4 separate regions of the Homo sapiens genome follow, and all the other regions are linked to region 2. Evidence: promoter capture Hi-C in human tissues and cell types (Jung and others, 2019). All regions are on one chromosome and are shown on one strand. Each heading gives the region's core, a stretch centred on a gene start or on the middle of the fragment in contact. The rest is flanking DNA. Distances are from core to core; before and after follow the strand shown. Region 1 has its middle 9.6 kb from the start of SRCAP. Region 2 holds the start of SETD1A (SET domain containing 1A, histone lysine methyltransferase). Region 3 has its middle 8.7 kb from the start of ITGAM. Region 4 overlaps ITGAM (integrin subunit alpha M).

Region 1 (5,161 bases), core at 821-3,320, 270 kb before region 2:
CGGATATTGCAGTGAGCCGAGATCTTGCCATTGCACTCCAGCCTGGCAACAATAGTGAAACTCCTTCTCAAAAAAAAACAAAAAAAAAAACAAAAAAAACCCAAAAAAATCCAAAGTAACTATAAGCCGGGTGCTGTAGCTCACGCCTGTAATGCCAGCACTTTGGGAGGCCTCCGAGGCAGGCGGATCACCTGAGGACAACATGGTGAAACTGTCTCTACTAAAAATACAGAAAACTTAGCTGGGCATGGTGGCTCATGCCTGTAATCCCAGCTACTCAGGAAGCTGAGGCAGGAGAATCGTTTGAACCCAGGAGGAGGAGGTTGCAGTGAGCCGAGGTCAGGCCCACTGCACTCCAGCCTGGGGGACAGAGGGAGATTCTGTCTCAAAAATAAATAAATAGTAACGATAAAGCAAACATTTGTTTTACCTCTACCTTAAAAACATTTTCAGTAGTTGTTGTTTTGTAAAGACAGGGTCTGACTATGTTTCACCTGCTGGTCTGGAACTCCTGGACTCAAGCAATCCTCTTTCCTCAGCCTCCCAAAGTGTTGAGATTACAGGCGTGAGCCACTGCTCCCGGCCAGTTGTTTTTAAGTTTAAAAAATAAGTATAACAAACACCTGTGGCCTGCGCCTGTAATCCCAGCTACTCAGGAGGCTGAGGCAGGAGAATCGCTTGAACCCAGGAGACAGAGGTTGCAGTGAGCTGAGATCGCGCCACTACACTCCAGCCTGGCAACGAGTAACACTCTGTCTCAAACAACAACAACAAAAACACACCAAAAAAACACCTGTGTACCACTCTCCAGGAATTAACAAACACATTCTGCTATTTTTTTGTTTTGTTTCCTTTTTTTTTTCTAACAAGACCACAAAACAGAAGGTACTTATTCTACACACCTTTTTTTTTTTTTTTTTTTTTTAGAATGCAGTACTTAATGGTCACTCTTTTGTGAGTCACTTAATGGATCAAGGCTTTTCTTATTTATTGTATGTCATGTGACCTCAGCCAATATTCTCCTTTTGTTGTTGTTGTTTTGTGTTTGTTTGTTTTGAGGTGGAGTCTCACTGTTGCCCAAGGATGGAGTGTAGTGGCGTAATCTCGGCTCACTGAAAACTCAGCTTCCTGGGTTCAAGAATTTTTTTTAATTTTTTTTGAGATGGACTCTCGCTCTGTTGCCCAGACTGGAGTGCAGTGACGTGATCTCGGCTCACTGCAACCTCTGCCTCCCGGGTTCAAGCAATTCTCTGCCTCAGCCTCCCAAGTACCTGGGATTACAGGCGCCTGCCAAGATTACCCACTAATTTTTTTGTGTTTTTAATAGAGACGGGGTTTCGCTATCTTGGCCAGGCTGGTCTTGAACTCCTGACCTCATGATCCACCCGCCTCGGCCTCCCAAAGTGCTGGGATTAGGCATGAGCCACCGTGCCCGGCCGAATAATTTTTTAATTCAAATAAAAAAGTTTGGGCATGCTTACAGTCCCTCCGACAGCAGTGTGTGCACCTAGCTGCCCATACCCTTCCTAGAACTGGGTGTCATAATTACAGTTTCCTTCTCATAAGGTTGGGATGTTTTGGATTCGTGTGTTTGCTTAAGATGTGCTGGGTTCAACCCACGAAGGCTCTGTGCTTGGCTGTGTTCTGAGAAGTTTTCAGTCCTTGTGGAGAGGAGAGGTATTCTAGCACCCTCTCCTAGCCTCCTGGGACCTCAGCCACCCACAACTGCCTTCCAGAGTTTCCTCGCAGAGGTTCCCCAGAAGAGTTATTTGCTAAATCTGTCAACCTTACCACCACATTCCCTTTCTGCTTAAAGATTTCAATCTCCATCACCTTTTACCTAGACTACAGCAGTCACTTAGACTCTTATCCCAACAGTCCGTTGTCAGCACGTTGTATCTGGCCTCTGCTCAAAGCCCTCCTGCTACACTTCACATTCCATCTAAGCTCCTTAGCTTGGTCTTCAAAGCCCTGCCAGATGCAGGCCTGATCCTCTTCTAAGACCGCATCTCCCACTGTTCCCCTTCCCCTGCAGTCTCCTGGTGGGTTCCTGGCAGGATAAGCTGGGTCTAGCCTCAGGGACTTTGTACTTATTATTATTATTATTTTATGAGACAGAGTTTTGCTCTTGTCACCCAGGCTGGAGTACAATGGAATGATCTTGGCTCACTGCAACCTCCACTTCCTGGGTTCAAGCGATTCTCCTACCTCAGCCTCCCAAGTAGCTGGGAGTACAGGTGCTCGCCACCAGGCCCAGCAAATTTTTGTAGTAGAGATGGGTTTTCACCATGTTGGCCAGGCTGGTCTCGAACTCCTGATCTCAGGTGATACACCTGCTTCAGCCTTCCAAAGTGCTGAGATTATAGGCGTGAGCCACCGCGCCCGGCCCCTTTGTACTTATTTACCTCTGCTTAGGATGCTCTTCCCCCAGAGCGTCTCTGTTCAAATGTCACCACACTAGAGAGGCCCTCCCAGACAATCTTGTCTAAAATAATGCCTCTTCTGCCCCTCACCCGAGCTCATCCACCCCACTTCATTTTTTCATAACACGTATCAGCCATTATTATATTTTATTTTATTCATTTATTGAGATAGAGTCTCGCTGTGTCGCCCAGGCTGGAGTGCAGTGGCACAGTCTGGGCTCACTGCAACCTCTACCCCCCAGGTTCAAGTAATTCTCCTGCCTCAGCCTCCCCAGTAGCTGGGACTACAGGCAGGGGCCACCACGCCTGGCTAATTTTTTTTTTTTTTTTTTTTTGAGACAGAGTCTCGCTCTGTCGCCCAGGCTATAGTGCAGTGACGGTGGCACGATCTTGGCTCACTGCAACCTCCGCCTCCCGGGTTCAAGTGATTCTTCTGCCTCAGCCTCCCGAGTAGCTGGGAGTACAAGTGCCTGCCACCACGCCTGGCTAATTTTTGTATTTTTAGTAGAGACGGGATTTCATCATATTGGCCAGGCTGATCTCGAACTCCTGACCTTGTGATCTGCCTGCCTCAGCCTCCCCAAGTACTGGGATTACAGGCGTAAGCCACCATGCCCAGCCAACCATCATTATTTTATATTCACACTTATTTATATGTTTGTTATTTGTCTTCTCCCACCAGGAATGTAAGCTTGATAAAAACTGAAACCTTGAGTGTTTTACTTGTTTGTGTTTCCAACATTATCTCCCCAGTGCCTAGAATAATGCCTGGCACATGGTAGATGGACTCAGATGCTAGACCTGGATTTGACAAGGTGTACTGCACAGCAGTTAAGAGCACAAATGTAGCTGGGCACAGTGGCTCATGCCTGTAATCCCTGCACTTCGAGAGGCTGAGGCAGGAGGATTGCTTGAAACCAGGAGTTGAAGGCCAGCCTGGGCAACAAAGCAGGACCTCATCTCTCTCTTTTTTTTATTTTTATTTATTTATTTTTTTTGAGATGGAGTTTTGCTTGTCACCCAGGCTGGAGTGCAATGGCGCAATCTTGGCTCACTGCAACCTCTGCCTCCTGGGTTCAAGTGATTCTCCTGCCTCAGACTCCCAAGAAGCTGGGATTACAGGCACGAACCACCAAGTCGGCCATTTTTTTGTATTTTTAGTAGAGGCGGGGTTTCACCTTGTTGGCCAGGCTGGTCTCCAACTCCTGACCTCAGGTGATTCCATCTGCCTCCGTCTCCCAAAGTGCTGGGATTATAGGCATGAGCCACTGCGCATGGCAAGACCTCATCTCTTAAGAAAAGTCAGCCAGCCATGGTGGCTGGCACCTATGGTCTTAGCTACTCAGGAGGCTGAGGCAGGAGGATCACTTGAGCCCATGAATTTGAAGCTAAAGTGAGCTATGATGCCCACCACTGCCCTCCAGCTCCAGTCTCGGCAAAGAGTGAGACCATCTCTTGGGGAAAAAAAAAAAAAGCACAAAAATGAGTCAAGTCCCTCTGGGTTGACAGCAGTCCCTGTGTTGTTCTTTTTCAGCTCCGTAACTTGCGACGTTACTTAACCATCCTTTTCACCATCTATAAAAGAAGGATGGTAATCTATTTTTTTTTTTTTTGAAGCAGAGTTTCACTCTCGTTGCCCAGGCTGGAGTGCAATGGTGCGATGTCGGCTCACCACAACATCTGCCTCCCAGGTTCAAGCAATTCTCTTGCCTCAGCCTCCTGAGTAGCTGGGATTACAGGCATGTGCCACAACGCCCAGCTAATTTTGTATTATCAATAGAGACGGGGTTTCTCCATGTTGGTCAGGCTGGTCTCGACCTCCCGACCTCAGGTGATCCACCCATCTCGGCCTCCCAAAGTGCTGGAATTACAGGCGTGAGCCACCACGCCTGGCCGACAATCTATGTAACATAATTGTGAGAATTAAGTGAGTTAATTCATGTAAATACACAGGTTGGTGCTTAGTGCTTGTCATTATTATACTTCTTGAGTGAATTTAACACATAGTATCCAGGTGCAGTGGCTCACGCCTGTAATACCAGCACTTTGGGAGGCCGAGGCGGGTGGATCACCTGAGCGGGAGTTTGAGACCAGCCTGACTAAGATGGCGAAACCCTGTGTCTACTAAAAATACAAACAAACAAACAAACAAAAATATTGGCCGGACATGGTGGTGTGTGCCTGTAATCCCAGCTACCCTGGAGGCTGAGGCAGGGGAATTGCTTAAACCTGGGAGGTGGAGGTTGTAGTGAGCCGAGATTGCACCACTGCACTCCAGCCTGGGCAAGGGAGCGAGACTCCGCCTTAAAAAAAAAAAATTAGCACATATGAGCTATTGCCGTCATGCAACAAGCAGGCATCAACCAAGCCCAAGGTGTGGATATTTATGATGTGCGTGGCACTCCCCCAGACAGTGGACATAGATGGGCATGCATTAAAGTGAACGAGACAGAGGTAAACCCAAGGAATTATTCGTAGAGTGCAGATAAGCAAAAAAAGCAGACTGTTACAGGAGATATAGCGTAGTCTGAGGGCAGGAAAGGCTTCTGGAAGCAGTGACTTTGTCCTAGGACTAAGGATGTGTAGGTTGTAACTGCATGGAAGGAAAGAGAGAAGCAAGTGTGAGAAAGCTCAGAACAGAGAAAAGAACCTGCAGAGAGACAGCAGTGGCTGGAGTGCAGGGCACTGGGAGAGATGAGGCTAGATAATCTGCCAAGGGCTTATCACGCAGGGCCCAG
Region 2 (5,123 bases), core at 2,107-4,606:
TGTAGAGACGGGGTTTCGCTGTTCCCAGGCTGGTCTCAAACTCCTGGGCTCAAGTGAACCTCCCGCCTCGGCCTCCCAAAGTGCTGGGATTCCTTTCTTTATTTCTGTAGAATCTATTTTATGGTTGGCATTTTGGGGGAAGATTTCGATGGGTTCCACATTCTTGCTTTAGTTGTTGTAGAGGGATTTGGGTGTTTCTACCCAAGGCATTGGTCTAGCTTTTCCTACAATGAACCTATCTTTGGAGGTTCAAGCTCCCCACCTTCCCCCACTGTGGTGACCTGTGGCCACTTGCAGAAGGGATGGTGCCTGACCCACTGCCCTAGCCCCACGCTATGCACCAAACTTGTTCTCCCCGTCCTGGTCCAGGGCTGGGGTCTTTAGAGACTGACAGCCTCTGCCCCAGGCCTGAGTCCTTAGCAAGGGTTGGGTAAGGAGGTTTTAAGGGAGAAGGTCCAGTCCTTAGCCCTTGAAATACAAAGCTCTTCTGACACTGAATTTGGATGCACCTTGTTTTATATAATAAATCGTGTTTCACAGATGTCCCTGTTGCTGTGAAGGGGATGCAGGGCAGGCCTTCTTAGGATAACTTTACTTGTTCCCAAGAGCCGGGTGGTGGCAAGTTTGGGTGGACAGGACCTGGGAGGGGAGTGGGTTTCAGGTGTAACCCTGTCAGATGCTAACAAGGGCCAACAGCTTCTGAATGGGGAGAGTTATTCCAAGGCTACAGGCTTTGAACTCTTGTCCCTGAGTTCAGAGTCTCTATCTCTTCCACTGAGTATTTATTTATTTAGAGACGGAGTCTTGTGTTGCCCAGGCTGGAGTGCAGTGGTGCGATCTCAGCTCACTGTAACCTCCGTCTCCCAAGTTCAAGCAATTCTCCTGCCTCAGCCACCAGAGTAGCTGGGATTACAAGTGTGTGCCGCCACACCCGGCTAATTTTTATATTTTTATTAGAGACGGGGTTTCGCCATGTTGGCCAAGCTGGTCTCAAACTTCTGACCTCAGGTGATCCACCTGTCTGGCCTCCCGAAGTGCTGGGATTACAGGCATGAGCCACCACACCCAGCCCTCCCTGAGTGTTTAGTATAAGCACTCTTTTTTTTTTTTTTTTTTTGAGACCGAGTCTCGCTCTGTCTTGCACTGTCGCCCAGGCTGGAGTACAGTGGCATGATCTCGGCTCACTGCAAGCGCCGCCTCCTGGGTTCACGCCATTCTCCTGCCTCAGCCTCCCAAGTAGCTGGGATTACAGGTGCCCACCACCACGCTCGGCTAATTTTGTTTTTGTATTTTTAGTAGAGATGGGGTTTCACCGTGTTAGCCAGGATGGTCTTGATCTCCTGACCTAGTGATCCCCCTGCCTTGGCCTCCCAAAGTGCTGGGATTACAGGTGTGAGCCATCGCGCCCAGCCGAGACAGTCTCACTCTTTTGCCCAGGCTGGAGTGCAGCTGTGCAATCTTGGCTCACTGCAGCTTTGACCTCCCAGGCTCATGAGCCTCCCACCTCAGCCTCCCAAATAGCTGGCACCACAGGACGTCCCACCAACCCAGCTAATTAATTTTTTTTTTTTTTTGTAGAGAGGAGGGTCTCACTATGTTGTCCAGGCTGGTCTTGAACTCCTGGGCTCAAGTGATCCTCCCACCTTGGCCTCCCAAAGTGCTGAGATTACAAGTGTTAGCCACTGCACCTGGCCTCAAGTTTCTTTCTTGAGCAACTACCACATACTAGGGGACTTTCATAGGTTATCTTATTTAACTCTCACAACACCTTAAGCGTTAAGTCTTTATCATTTTCATTTCAGAGATAAGGAAACAGGCCCAAGAAGGCTGAAGATCTTGCCCAAAACCACACAGCTAGTCCATGAAACTGAACTTGGACTATCTACCCCTCACACGGGAATCTCTCTTTGATTTGAGAAAAGGAACCAGTGCCTTTCAACTGGAACAGAAAGGAATCTGATCTCAACACCTATGCCTCCACGTAAATTATTTTTTTCAGCCTTATTTCCCTCAAAATTGTAGAGTCCTAATCTTCTTCTATCTTGTGGTGTGAGACCTTGGATAAGTCTCCCTTCCACCTTTTCCTATTACTTAAAATGGTGAATTTGCATAAACCAGGCTCTAAGGGTCTTTTCTGCACTGTTCGGATGTGTACAAATTGACATCCAAGTTTAAAGGAAGACTCTGAAACTTAGGTCAATGACTTGCCCAAGGCCATATAGCGAGGGCCTGATGTACACATATCAGGAGCTTGGGGCATCCTCAGCTCAGGAAAAGGGACCTCCTGGGAGTGCCTGCGCCCACACGGGATCAAAACGGTGCCCAGCCTTCAGAAACCTCAGCCCGAGTTCCAGGGGTAGGCCTGGGCCGCTGCTGCCCTTGTGCGGAGGCATCCCGTGAGCATAGGGCGCCATAGCCAAAGAAGCGGGCAGTGGGACCATGACGCCAGGAGGACACACCAGTCCAGTCCCGTTCCTGTAGGACCTCGTTTATTATTACAAGGCCCATTTAAGGGCACTTAGGCCCCACTAGGCTCATCAGAAAACCTTGAGGCGGTCCCTGGATTTAACCACTAATGGTGGGTTTGAGTACGGCAAAGTAGGGCACCTTCTACAGGCCTCACTCTCCCCATCTGGCAAATGGGCATCCTAAGCAGCCAGACACCCAAGGGCAATAACGGGAAGGAAAGGTACCCTGCATTTATGTGCGAGGCGGGGCAAACCGCCTGAGTCACCGCTCACGGTTGTGTTTTTCCACCTCCCGGCCGTCCCTCCCATCCGGGTGAGTCCTCGTGGGTCCTCCCGGAGGCGCCCCCTAGTCCCAGGCTCTGCACGCCCTGGCCCCGCCCCTTGACTCGGCCCCGCCCACAGCGGAATCCGCAGATTCGCCAGGTCGGATCCTCAGAATTCCTCGGGTCCCTCGATACTCGGCTGAAAATTCTCATCGGACTCTGAGAGGAGCGCTGGGCTGGAGGCATTTTCCCCAGGGACAGAAGCGGGCTATTCTCTCACTTGGGCCAGTAAGAAAAATCCAAAAAAAGTTGTCGACTCTGCCAGCAGGGATTGGCTAACGGGCCGTTATTTTCTTGACTCCACCAAGGCGGATGAAGGGGAGGCTACGGCTGAGGCCGGGAACAGTGGCGAATCTGCAGCCTCTCAGAATTTGGCAGTGCAAGGAAGGGACGGGGAAGAGAAGCAAAGCGGCGCGCATCCTGTCCAGCGATTCGCCCCGCCCGCCCGGTGAATCTGCGTCTGCAGAACGCGCCACTGAAGGTTCCCCAGCGCTGGCTGGCCTCCTCCCCTCCGCCCCGCCCCTTTTCCTCAGGGACTAGTCGCAGCTTTCGTCGCCGCCGATTCGTCAAGGTCCCGGGCCGCAGCATCTAGATCGTCGTGGCGAAGCCGACTCTCCGGGGGATGCGGCCAATCTCCAAGCTCCCTGGGCCGCAACTTCCGAGCCTCCCAGGGCGCCGGCCGAGGCGAAGCCGCTACCCTCGGCCCCGTGGGTCCCCCGGCAGCGCCTGTGGCGAAAGTGCGAATGCAGACCCTGTGCCCGCTGGGCCTCGCGCAGGTGGCAGTGGTGTTTGGTGCGCGCGCCGGGGAGGTGGTGGTGGGGGGGCGCCGCCGCCGCCACCGCTGCGGGGCCGGGTCTCGCGCTGCCGCTGCCGCCGCCTCGCGCCGCTGAGGTGCCGCGCGAGGTGGGGGGAGGGGGAGCCGCTCGCCGGGAGCGGGTGAGTGGGGCCGCGCGGCGCGCGTGCGCGGAGACCTGCTGGGGGGGGTGCAGAACGCGCCGGGGCGGGAGGAGAGGGCAGCGGTGCACGTTCCCCCCACCCCCCCGCCCGGATTCGGGGTCGAAGCCGGGTCTCGGGCTCGGTCTCGCGGTGTTTCCAACGCCCCGAAGAGGTGCCACCTTTCGGCCGGAGGATCGGGGCGCGGGGAGGAGAGCGGGTGTGTGGGAGCCGTGGCCGGGCTCGGCCCGGGCCGCTGGCCGGTGAGGAGGCGGGAGGGGGCGGGGCCTGCAGGGGGCGGGGGAGGGGTCTTGCTCCGAGGCCAAGTGGGGCGCGCGCTAGGGAGAGCGGGAAGGTAAGGGGGCTCGAGACGGGCCTGGGGGCCTGACAGTAGAGTTGGGAGGTGGAAAGAGGCTGGGTTGTTGTGGCGAAACAGAGGGTACTTGGGGGAGAATCCGGGGGAGCCCCGGGTCAGGGTGAGGGTTGGAAACTGGAGTGATGGGAGAACCTGGAATCGGGGCTAGCCAATGAGGAAAGGCAGGGGAGTCAGGCCCCAAGTCCTGATCCTTCTTGCGTGTCCCTCTTCCCCTAACAGTGTAAATGAGCAAAGATGGATCAGGAAGGTGGGGGAGATGGGCAGAAGGCCCCGAGCTTCCAGTGGCGGAACTACAAGCTCATCGTGGATCCTGCCTTGGACCCTGCCCTGCGCAGGCCTTCTCAGAAGGTGTACCGCTATGATGGAGTCCACTTCAGTGTCAACGTGAGTGCCCGGGTCTTTGGTTGCCATCCGGGGAGCTCCAGGCGCCCGTCCTCTGTGATTCTGTTCAGCACCTAGAACGGTAGCCTGCCTTCTTGAAAGTGGGCAGTTGGACCCAGCTCTTCTGCATGTGTGTGTCCAGATGGGCTGCTTGGAGCTCCCTAGCCTGGATTCACCCTGAGCTCTCTTTCTGCTGCTGCTTTCCTTCCTAGGACTCAAAGTATATACCAGTCGAAGACCTCCAAGACCCCCGTTGCCATGTCAGGTCCAAAAACAGAGACTTTTCCCTCCCAGTCCCTAAGTTTAAGGTAAGTGTCTGCTGGGCTCCTGGTGTGGTAGTCCTAAGAGGGTGTGGAGGATGCGTCTTGGCACTATAGCTGAATAAAAGGGTTTCCAATGAAAGGATCTCAGCCAGATCTAGCAACCTCTGAGGCTGTGAGACTCAGTTGTTTTGGATAGGAGGTACACTTAATCTTCCAGAAAGGTGCAGGTCAGGTGTCCTAAGTGTATCCCTGGTGGCTGGGGTGTCGACTTCTTGAAGGGTGAGGTAAAGACTCTTTAGCTGCTATACCTATCACTGTATATTCGTAGACAGTGCATCATAGCACACAAGAGTGGGATCTCCCAGTTCCTTGACAGTCA
Region 3 (4,872 bases), core at 1,008-3,507, 290 kb after region 2:
AGCCTGGAGCAGCACCTGGCACATAGTTAATACCTGTTGAATGAAGAGTCTAGTGGAAAGATGGGCATAATCTCCAAGTCATCACACCATATACAGTTTAATGCTAGCTCTAGGGACTTTGAGGGGCCAGGGTGTGTGATCCACCCTTTTACTTCTCCTCCTTTTTCTCTTCCTTCTGTTTGTGGCTCCCCCAGGGTGAGAGATTGAGAGGAAAGAATTGAAGGGATGGCAGGGGTTCCACATGACTGGTACCCATATGTGGTTGGAAATGCCCTGACTCTCTCTAGACTCCAAGCTGGGTCCATCTCTTGCTTGTGGTCCCCAGTAGCTGAAGTACAGCTGAGGTGTTCCTGGGGTTGCTATTTAGCTTAACCATGGCTCTCTCCTCTGCTGAGGAGCCCCTTGGAGTGAGAGATGCCTGCCTCCCCTCAGGGCTTTGCCTCCACCCTTTCTCCAACCTCTGTATTCCTTCATGTGGAACCAGGAAGCCCCCCTCTCCCTCAATTTCCCACTTTATTTAAGGCACATAAAACTTTTCTGGAGGAAAGCTCTTGTTGAATCTGCAGCCTCTCCCCAAACCCCAAGGCCTGTAAAGCTCTGAATAGAGAGGCCCTGAGCTGAATGTGACAGTAATGATACTTATATCAGGTCAAGGATGCCTAAGGACCATAGTTACTTTGTCAAATTGTACAAGATGTTTCATCCAGAGCGTGCTTAGAGTAATGATAATGATATGTGGCAGAGAGAGCTAGTTGCCCCCATGTGCTTTCCTCTTCTTCCTTTAGTAATGCAACCCCATTAATTAGCACACAGATACTTAGGATAACATCACATTTTCCAGTCACCACTGCAGTTGTGTGTGGCCATGTGACTAAGTCCTGGCCAATGAGATGTGAAGGAAATGATGTGTGCAACATTTGGTCTCACCTTTAAAGGAAAGGGGCCTTCCCACCATTTTTTTTCTTTGTTATGAGACAGAGTCTCACTCTGTCACCCAGGCTGGAGTGCAGTGGCATGCTCTTGGCTCACTGCAACCTCCACCTTCCAGGTTCAAGCGATTCTCCTGCCTCAGCCTCCCAAGGAGCTGGGACTATAAGCGCCCGCCACAATGGCTGGCTAATTTTTGTATTTTTAGTAAAGGCGGGGTTTCACCATGTTTGCCAGGCTGGTCTCGAACTCCTGACCTCATGTGAACCCACTTCGGCCTCCCAAAATGCTGGGATTACAGGTGTGAGCCACTGTGCCTGGCTTTTTTTTTTTTTGATACAGATTCTTGCTCTGTTACCCAGGCTGGAGTAAAGTGGTGCAATCTTGACTCACTGCAGCCTTGACCTCCCAGGCTCAGGTGATCCTCCCACCTAAGCCTCCCAAGTAGCAGGGACCACAGGCACATGCTACCATGCCCAGCTAATTTTTTTTTGTAATTTTTATAGAGACAAGGTTGTGTCATGTTGCTGCGCTGGTCTTGAACTCGTGGGCTCAAGTGATCTGCCTGCCTCGGCCTTCTAAAGTGCTGGGATTACAGACATAAGCCAACGTGCCTGGCCTCAATTTTTTTTTTTTTTTTTTTGAGACAAAGTCTCACTCTATTGCCCAGGATGGAGTACAGTGGCTTGAGCTCGGCTCACTGCAACCTCTGCCTCCTGAGTTCAAGCGATTCTCCTGCCTCAGTCTCCCAAGTTGCTGGGATTGCAGGCATGTGCCACCACACCCAGCTAATTTTTGTATTTTTAGTAGAGATGGGGTTTCACCATGTTGGTTAGGCTGGTCTTGAACTCCTGACCTCAGGTGATCCGCCTGCCTCGGCCTCCCAAAGTGCTGGGATTACAGGCGTGAGCCACCACTCCCTGCCAGGCACCACTTCTTTTTATCCTTCCTGTCAGCCCGAGGGTGGACTTGGCGCTGGGCCGTCTTTGACCAGGCGGATGAAGACAAAACCCTCAGGATGGCAGAGCAACCTGCTGGAGGGAGCCTGGATCTCCAACACCATGGAGCCTCCGTAACCCCCAAATGCTGATGCTGGGGCCATCACAGGACTGTCTGGGCTAAGCCTCTGTGATTTTGGGTCTTATTACAACAGTTGAACCTTAGTCTCCACCAATACAAATAATCATCTTTGCCGGTGGGGGCGCATCTTACATGCCAGGCACTGTGCTAAGCTTTTCACATGCATTATTTAATTTAACCCTTACAAAAACTCTGTTAAGTCACACATCAGTTAGGGCCTTTTGGGGAAAAACAACAGAACAAGTAGAACATGAGATTTACTGAGTACCAAGTAGCCTATTCCAGGAATTAGTAGTTTTGTTTCCTGCCCTGCTCAGGTTAGGCCCTGAGCAACTCCTCCTTTCAAGGTTGGGAGGCAAGAACTTAGAGATGGTGAAATGGCTGTCGCTGCCCTGCAAGTCACCTGTGGCCAACCATGCTCTTTGTGTGACCTTGGTCGAAACACCTGGGACTCACAAAGCCTGTGGTAGAACAATTTCCTTGGCCTGCCAGACATTTGGCCTGCTGCATGGACAACTGAGGTGGCAAGGGAAGCATCCAGAATGCTTCCCACTGAGCGACAGGCAGCTTTCAGCCACCTACCTCTGTGTGTCATCGAGGGTGCGCTGGCCAGGTCATCCATCAACCCAACACAGTTGGTAGAATGATTACAGCGAATGTTGACTACATGCACTTTGACATCTATTATTATCTCATTTAACTATCACAATCACCCCAAGATGTTAGTACAATTATTGCCCCCATTTTCCAGATGAGGACAGTGAGGTCCAGAGAGTAAGTTGTTCAAGGGCATACTTATAGACCTAGGATATTTTTATTCTTTTTTTTTTTTTTTCTGAGATGAGATCTTGCTCTGTTGCCCAGGCTGGAGGGCAGTGGTGTGATCTTGGCTCATTGCAATCTCCGCCTCCTGGGTTCAAGTGATTTTCTTGCCTCAGCCTCCTGAGTAGCTGGGATTACAGGCATGTGCCACCATTCCCGGCTAATTTTTGTATTTTTGGTAGAGACAGGGTTTCGCTATATTGTCCAGGCTGGTTTCAAACTTCTGACTTCAGGTGATCCACCTGCCTCAGCCTCCCAAAGTGCTGGGATTACAGGTGTGAGCCACCACACCCGGCGTAGACCTAGGATTTTAGTGCCCTTAGTCTGATTCCAGACCCAAAGGCTTAACCAGATGGCTGAGGATGACACTCAGGTGGAACTTTTTTTTCTTACTTTTTTTTTTTTTTAAGACAGGGTCTCGCTGTGTTGCCCAAGCTGGAGTGCGGTGGTGCAATCAGCTCACTGCAGCCTCAATCTCCTGGGCTCAAGTGATTCTCCCACCTCAGCCTCCTGGGTAGCTGGGGTTGTCTCACGTGTCCATGTGAAGAGACCACCAAACGGGCTTCGTGTGAGCAACAAGGCTGTTTATTTCACCTGGGTGCAGGCGGGCTGAGTCCGAAAAGAGAGTCAGCAAAGGGTGGTGGATTATCATTAGTTCCTACAGGTTTTGGGATAGGGGGTGAAAAGCCATGTTTTGCGGGCAGGGGTGGATCTCACAAAGTACATTCTCAAGGGTGGGGAGAATTACAAAGAACCTTCTTAAGGGTCGGGGAGATTACAAAGTACCTTCTTAAGGGTGGGGGAGATTACAAAGTACATTGATCAGTTAGGGTGGGACAGAAACAAATCACAATGGTGGAATGTCATCAGTTAAGGCTATTTTCACTTCTTTTGTGGATCTTCAGTTGCTTCAAGCCATCTGGATGTATACATGCAGGTCACAGGGGATATGATGGCTTAGCTTGGGCTCAGAGGCCTGACAGGATCACAGGAACTTTTCTTGACAATCCAGTGCAATGGAAAAACAGTATTTTATTCTTGTTCTTCCCACAACTTTCTCAGGAGGGCGGATCCTGTAGCAAGTTTCTTCGAGTGTGGTGAGCGAAGCAAATTGGAGGAGCTCAGACGGAGATAATTTGTCTGTGTAGACAAGGAAGGAAATTTGGAGAGGTGGGACTGGGAGATTTTGTTGGGAAGAGAGAAGCCGTGACCCTGGGTGCTGTGCAGGAAAAGGGACGATGAAGACCTGATACCTTCATTCCCCTGAGAGCAAAACTGGAAAATGTTGAGGAATGTGGCAAAGAAGGTTTGCGAAGTTGAGTATAGAGAGTCATGTGATGCAAAACCCACTTGTTTGAAGGAGGTGGGCCAGTGAGCCTGCCGATCCCTGGGGGAAGATTGGTTCCATCAGAGGGAACAGCCAGTGCCATGGCCTTCAGGTGGTGGTGTGCCTGGCAGGTTTGAGGAATGGCAAGGAGGCCAGGGTGGCTGCTGTCCCAGAAAATGAGGTAAGCTCAGAGAGGTAAGGGCTGGGGTTGGGATGACAGGTCATGCAGGTCCTTGTAGGTTGTAGAAAGGACTGGCTTTTACTATCAGTAACGTGGGAGCCTTTGCAAGGTTTTGAGCAGAGGAGTGGCATGATATGTCTTGTGTTTTGAAACAATCCCTCTGACTGCTGTACTGAAAATTGACTTCGGCTGGGCACGGTGGCTCACGCATGTAATGCCAGCACTTTGGGAGGCTGAGGTGGGAGGATGGCTTGAGGCTAGGAGTTTGAGACCAGCCTAGGCAACTTAGTGAGACCCCGTCTCTACAAAAAGATTGAAAAATTACCTGGACATGGGGGCGCATGCCTGTAGTACCAGCTATTTAGGAGGCTGAGGTGGGAGGATCATTTGAACCCAGGAGTTGGAAAAAAGAAAAAAGGCAGTCAAAGGACTGAGCTCTGAGATCCTTCTGAAGAGGTTGGGAGAAGAGGAGAATCAGCAAGAGAAACTGAGAAGGAGGGTCATGGGCGGTAGGCGGGAAGCAGGAGAGTGTGGG
Region 4 (5,160 bases), core at 858-3,357, 310 kb after region 2:
GGGCAGCCTCTACCAGTGCGACTACAGCACAGGCTCATGCGAGCCCATCCGCCTGCAGGGTGAGTCACTGCCCCGCCGGGCTGGGACTGGGATTCCCCTGTGAACACATAGGGACTTTCCAGGCACTCCTGTGTCCTGGGGATCTGTGGTGGGGACACAGGTGCCTGCCTCCGTACCCTCTCCTCTGCCTGCAGTCTCTACCCTAGACATCCCCAGGCAACCCCTCTGTGTTCCTTTCTTTCCCAAGATTTAGGATCCCCCTTCACCGTCAGACCTCCTTGTCTCCCGCATGGAGGTGACCCCTGCCCAGCTCTTCCACAGCCTTCTCTGTCCCCCCACCAGGGTGACCATGCCCATATCTGTCCCCGCAGTCCCCGTGGAGGCCGTGAACATGTCCCTGGGCCTGTCCCTGGCAGCCACCACCAGCCCCCCTCAGCTGCTGGTGAGTGGGGCTCGATCAGAGGAGCATCCTAATGGGGGTGTTTGGGGGCCCACGCATGGTGGGGCTGGGGGTCTTGTGGAGGGTGGAGGTGCTGGGGTACAAGGACAGGAAGCAGGGGCAGCCCCTTCCACTGGCTCCTGTCCCCTAGGCCTGTGGTCCCACCGTGCACCAGACTTGCAGTGAGAACACGTATGTGAAAGGGCTCTGCTTCCTGTTTGGATCCAACCTACGGCAGCAGCCCCAGAAGTTCCCAGAGGCCCTCCGAGGTGGGTTGCCTTTGGCAGAGGGAACAGATGCGCAGCAAAAGACCAGGGGAGGGGGCAGGACTGAGGTGACGTCTGCTCAAGGTCTGGGCTCTGGGTGCAGAAGAGTGGGGGAACTGGGTCCCATTAGAGTCAGAAGCTAGGGAGGTGCTAGGGTCTTGTACTTTAGGAAAACGCCTTGGCTAGGCACAGTGGCTCATACCTGCAATCCCAAAGCTTTGGGAGCCCAGGAGCTTGAGATCAGCCTGGGCAATGTAGTGAGATCCTGTCTCTAAAAAAAAAAAAAAAAAAAATTAGCTGAGTGTGGTGATGAGCACCTGTAGTCTTAGCTATTTGGAGGCCAAGGTGGGAAGATTGCTTGAGGCCACAAGTTCAAGGCAAGCCTGGGCAACATAGGGAGATCCCCGTCTCTACAAAAAAAAAAAAAAATTAGCCAGGCGTGGTGGCACACACCTGCAGTCCCAGCTACTCAGGAGGATCACTTGAGCCTGGGAAGTTGAAGCTGCAGCAAGTTATGATTGCACCACTGTACTCCAACCTGGGTGACAGAGCAAGACCCTGTCTTTAAAAAATAAGTCCAGGTCACACTGCAGAGGAGGGGATGGTGCAAGGTGTCATTGGCAAGAGGTGGGAATCTTGGGGACCATCCTGGGGGGCGGCCTTCCACACCCCTGTTCCCCAAACCTCTGTTGATTGAGATTCTGAGTGACTGTATGGATTTTTTTTTTTTTTTTTTTTTTTGAGGCAGAGTCTCGCTCTGTCACCCAGGCTGGAGTGCAGTGGCACGATCTTGGCTTACTGCAACCTCTGCCTCCCAGGTTCAAGCGATTCTCCTGCCCCATCTTCCCAAGTAGCTGGGATTACAGGTGCCCGCCACCACACCCGGCTAATTTTTGTATTTTTAGCAGAGACGGGGTTTCACCATGTTGGCCAGGCTGGTCTCGAACTCCTGAGCTCTGGTGATCTGCCCACCTTGGCTTCCCAAAGTGCTGGGAATGAGCCAGGGAATGAGTGGGGGGCATGAGCCACCATGCCTGGCCAGAGTGCGTGGATCTTTCAAGCTGCTTTTTCCCACTGCTTTGTTCGATGGCTATGCCATCTTTTTGCTTGTCTTCATGTTGATTCTGGGACCACAGGCGAATGTTTCTCCCTTGCATTTTTTTTCTTTCTCAAGCCCTGTTCCTCTATATTTCACCCTCCACAGTTAATCCTCCTTCCTCCACAGAGAAAACAAAAGCTTCAGGCATGGACTCCCTCCACTTTCCCCTTCTCTTATTTTATCTTAATAAGCGGTTTTCCAGTCTTCACTGGAATTTGTTGACAAATTCTAAAGGAGCTGTAACACCGCACTTTCTCCTTTTTCTCAAATTTCCATAATGACAGCACTCCTGGCAGTGACTCACTCGTTTTAGAGGAAGACCTGTCTCTCCTCTGTCCCATGACTAAATTCTTCCATATGGGCTTTTGAGAGTCTCTCATGCACCAACTAAGGTGATCACCTATCTTTCTTTTTTCTTTTTTTTTTGGAGACAGGGTCTTGCTCTGTCACCTAAGCTGGAGTGCAGTGGCACAATCTCGGCTCACTGCAGCCTCTGCCTCCTGTGCTCAAGAAATTCTTGTGCCTCCGCCTCCAGAGTAGCTGGGATCACAGGTGCGCATATACTGATTTTTGTATTTTTTGTAGAGATGGGGTTTCACCTTGTTGCCCAGGCTGGTCTCGAATTCCTGGGCTCAAGAGATCTTCCCACCTCAGCCTCCCACAGTGCTGGGATCACAGGTGTGAGCCACTGCGCCTGGCCCAGCATCTCTTGAATCACTTGTTTTCTCTCTAGGACAATTAACTTCCCCCTTCCTCTGGCTGTAAACACTCTTCATTCTATCTGTATCTGAAAAGCAATCAACCACCACAATCGATAGCCATGAAAACAATCTTCTCTCTTCCAGTCTCCTCCTCATCTCCTGCCATCTCTCCTCACCCTCACCACCCAAGCTTCCTGAGTGCATTCTCTTCACCCCCGGCTGGCCTCCAGCTTCCCTCTCCACCTAGGGGCACTGGGTTCTGGGTTCTCTTTTCACCCACGTGTTCTTCTTTCCTGAAATCACCCAGTTCTGTGGCTTCAGCTAACACTTCTACCTCTCCCTCTTTAGACCTCACTCTCAGGGTTCAAGACTACTTCTTTAAAAAAGTTTTCATTTATTAAAAAATATATAATACATACACTTGGTTCAAAATTCGAAAGGGTGCGGTAGCTCACACCTGTAATTCCAGCACTTTGGGAGGTCAAGGCAGGAGGATTGTTTGAGGCCAGGAGTTTGGGACCAGCCTAGACAACATAATGAGACCCCATCTCTACAAAAAATGCAATTAGCCAGGCATGGTGGCGTGTGCCTGTGGTCTTAGCTATTCAGGAGGCCTCCCAAAGTGCTGGGGTTACAGGCATGAGCCACTGTGCCCTGCCAGTCTTTCTAAAATACAAAACAAATCATCTCACTTCCTTTTCTAAGAACCTTCTGTGGCTCCCCATTGCCTACAGATAAAGTCGAGCTCCTTATTGGAGTAGAAAGGCCCTTGCCCGCTGCTCTTTGCTTGATGCCACCGCTGTGTCTCCATCGCCGTCACATACGTTTGTCCCTGTAGTGCTGTTTCCATCAAACGGCATTCCTGGATTCTGCCAGAATCCTTTTGAGGCCCTTGTCCCATATATCAGTAGGAGTCTCAACTGGGACCAAAAGCACATTCCAGTAATGTAACTGCCCAAGGGGTTCACCTTGCTTGCTGCCTAGACAGAGCCGATTCATCAAGACAGCAGAATTGCGATAGAGAAAGAATAATTCACACAGAGCCAGCTATGCAGGGGACCAGAGTTTTATTATCACTCGAATCAGTCTCCTCGAGCATTTGGGGGCAGAGTTTTTGAGGATAACTTGGTAGGTCGCGGGGGAAGCCAGTGAGCTGGGAGTGCTGATTGATCAGGGATGAAATCATCGGGAGTCGGAGCTGTCTTCTTGCGTTCAGTTGGTTCCTGGGTGGGGGCAGCAAGATCGGATGAACCAGTTTATTGATCTGGGCAGTGCCAGCTGATCCATCAAGTGCAAGGTCTGCAAAATATCTCAAGCACTGATTTTAGGAGCAGTTTAGGGAGGGTCAGAATCTTGTAGCCTCCAGCTGCATGACTCCTAAATCATAATTTCTCATCTTGTGGCTAACGTTAGTCCTACAAAGGCAATCTAGTCCCCAGGTAAGAAGGAGGTCTGCTTTGGGAAAGGGCTGTTACGATCTTTGTTTAAACTATAAACTATAAACTATAAACTAAGTGTCTCCCAAAGTTAGCTCAGCCTACACCCAGGAATGAACACGGACAGCTTGGAGGTTAGAAGCAAGATGGAATCAGTTAAGTTAGATCTCTTTCACTGTCTCAGTCATAATTTTGCAAAGGCGGTTTCAGTAAGATTTATTTACAAAGAGGGGGGTTTATTTATAAAGGGAGTAATTATAAAGCTGTGACAGGCCTAAGGGAGCCATCAGGGACTTTCCAAGCCCTGGGCAAGCAGGTCTGTTGCCACCCCTGGGTTTATGGGTTGAGGAGAGGGAGAGCTCACCAGGGTCTGGAGAGAGTCATGTGGAGCTGGCTTCCTTCTGAGGAACAGTTGGTCTTTTGTGAAGGACATAGCTGTCCCCAAACAACCTCAATGGGAGAACACCCGGACCTCACTGCCCTCCTCCCTCTAGTCTTCTGTTGAGCCCCCTCATCTGCCAAATCCAATGGGAATCCAGAGGGCAACAGAGTCCTGGTGATGGGGTCCCTGCAGGTTGACCTCCCAGGCCACAGAGCTGAGCGGCAATGGGTAGAAAGTGGATTTGGGGATGGGGCAGAAGGCAGAGGAGCACATTCCACATCACTTTATATGTGTGTGCCCTTCCCTTTTCTAGAATCTACTCCTTTTGTATATCTGGCAAATCCTTCCTTCCTTCCTTCCTTCCTTCCTCCTTTGCTTTCCTTTCCTTTCCTTTCCTTTCCTTTCCTTTCCTTTCCTTTCCTTTCCTTTTTTTCTTCCTTTCTTCCTTTTCTTCGAAGTCTTGCTCTGTGACCCAGGCTGGAGTGCAGTGGTGCGATCTCAGCTACTTTTTGTATTTTTAATAGAGATAGGGTTTCACCATGTCAGCCAGGCTGGTCTCAAACTCCTGATCTCAAGTGATCCACCTGCCTCAGCCTCCCAAAGTGCTGGGATTACAGGTGTGAGCCACCTCGCCCAGCTGGGCAAATTATTTCCTGTTCTTCAAGATTCAGTCAAACATCACCACATTCCCTGATTCCCTTGGGCAGAATTAACGAAAATTTTCCATACCACTTTGTCCTTGTTTATTTACTTATTTATTTATTTTTAAGAGACAGGGTCTTTCTCTGTGGCCCAGGCTGGAGTGCAATGGCGTGATCATAGCTCACTGAAGCCTCA

The links. The method cuts DNA at HindIII sites, captures the fragments that hold promoters and counts their contacts. A contact is called where the count stands out against the background at its distance.
Region 1: a contact is called between a fragment that was not itself captured here and the fragment with the promoter of SETD1A in region 2, in 1 of the 25 tissues and cell types used here (dorsolateral prefrontal cortex).
Region 3: a contact is called between a fragment that was not itself captured here and the fragment with the promoter of SETD1A in region 2, in 1 of the 25 tissues and cell types used here (lymphoblastoid cells).
Region 4: a fragment that was not itself captured here is called in contact with the fragment with the promoter of SETD1A in region 2 in 1 of the 25 tissues and cell types used here (spleen).

What each region holds. Positions count from the first base shown.
Region 1 is chr16:30,686,966-30,692,126 of GRCh38, forward strand. No RefSeq gene overlaps it. Among named protein-coding and RNA genes, the nearest start is that of SRCAP, 9.6 kb to the right of the region's middle. The HindIII fragment of the contact is 5,824 bases long and covers 1-4,982 here.
Region 2 is chr16:30,954,398-30,959,520 of GRCh38, forward strand. SETD1A (SET domain containing 1A, histone lysine methyltransferase) reads left to right here and starts at 3,357. Exons shown (of 19, transcript NM_014712.3): 1 at 3,357-3,567; 2 at 4,320-4,484; 3 at 4,694-4,789. The coding sequence starts at 4,335. ORAI3 (ORAI calcium release-activated calcium modulator 3) reads left to right here. Exons shown (of 2, transcript NM_152288.3): 2 at 1-541. RefSeq lists enhancers at 2,665-3,428, 2,886-3,015 and silencers at 3,616-3,835, 3,976-4,065. The HindIII fragment of the contact is 8,587 bases long and covers 2,440-5,123 here.
Region 3 is chr16:31,248,881-31,253,752 of GRCh38, forward strand. No RefSeq gene overlaps it. Among named protein-coding and RNA genes, the nearest start is that of ITGAM, 8.7 kb to the right of the region's middle. The HindIII fragment of the contact is 7,042 bases long and covers 1-4,872 here.
Region 4 is chr16:31,265,440-31,270,599 of GRCh38, forward strand. It overlaps ITGAM (integrin subunit alpha M), which reads left to right. Exons shown (of 30, transcript NM_000632.4): 3 at 1-59; 4 at 372-442; 5 at 591-708. Among named protein-coding and RNA genes, the nearest start is that of ITGAM, 8.0 kb to the left of the region's middle. RefSeq lists enhancers at 1-814, 1-408. The HindIII fragment of the contact is 5,038 bases long and covers 1-4,626 here.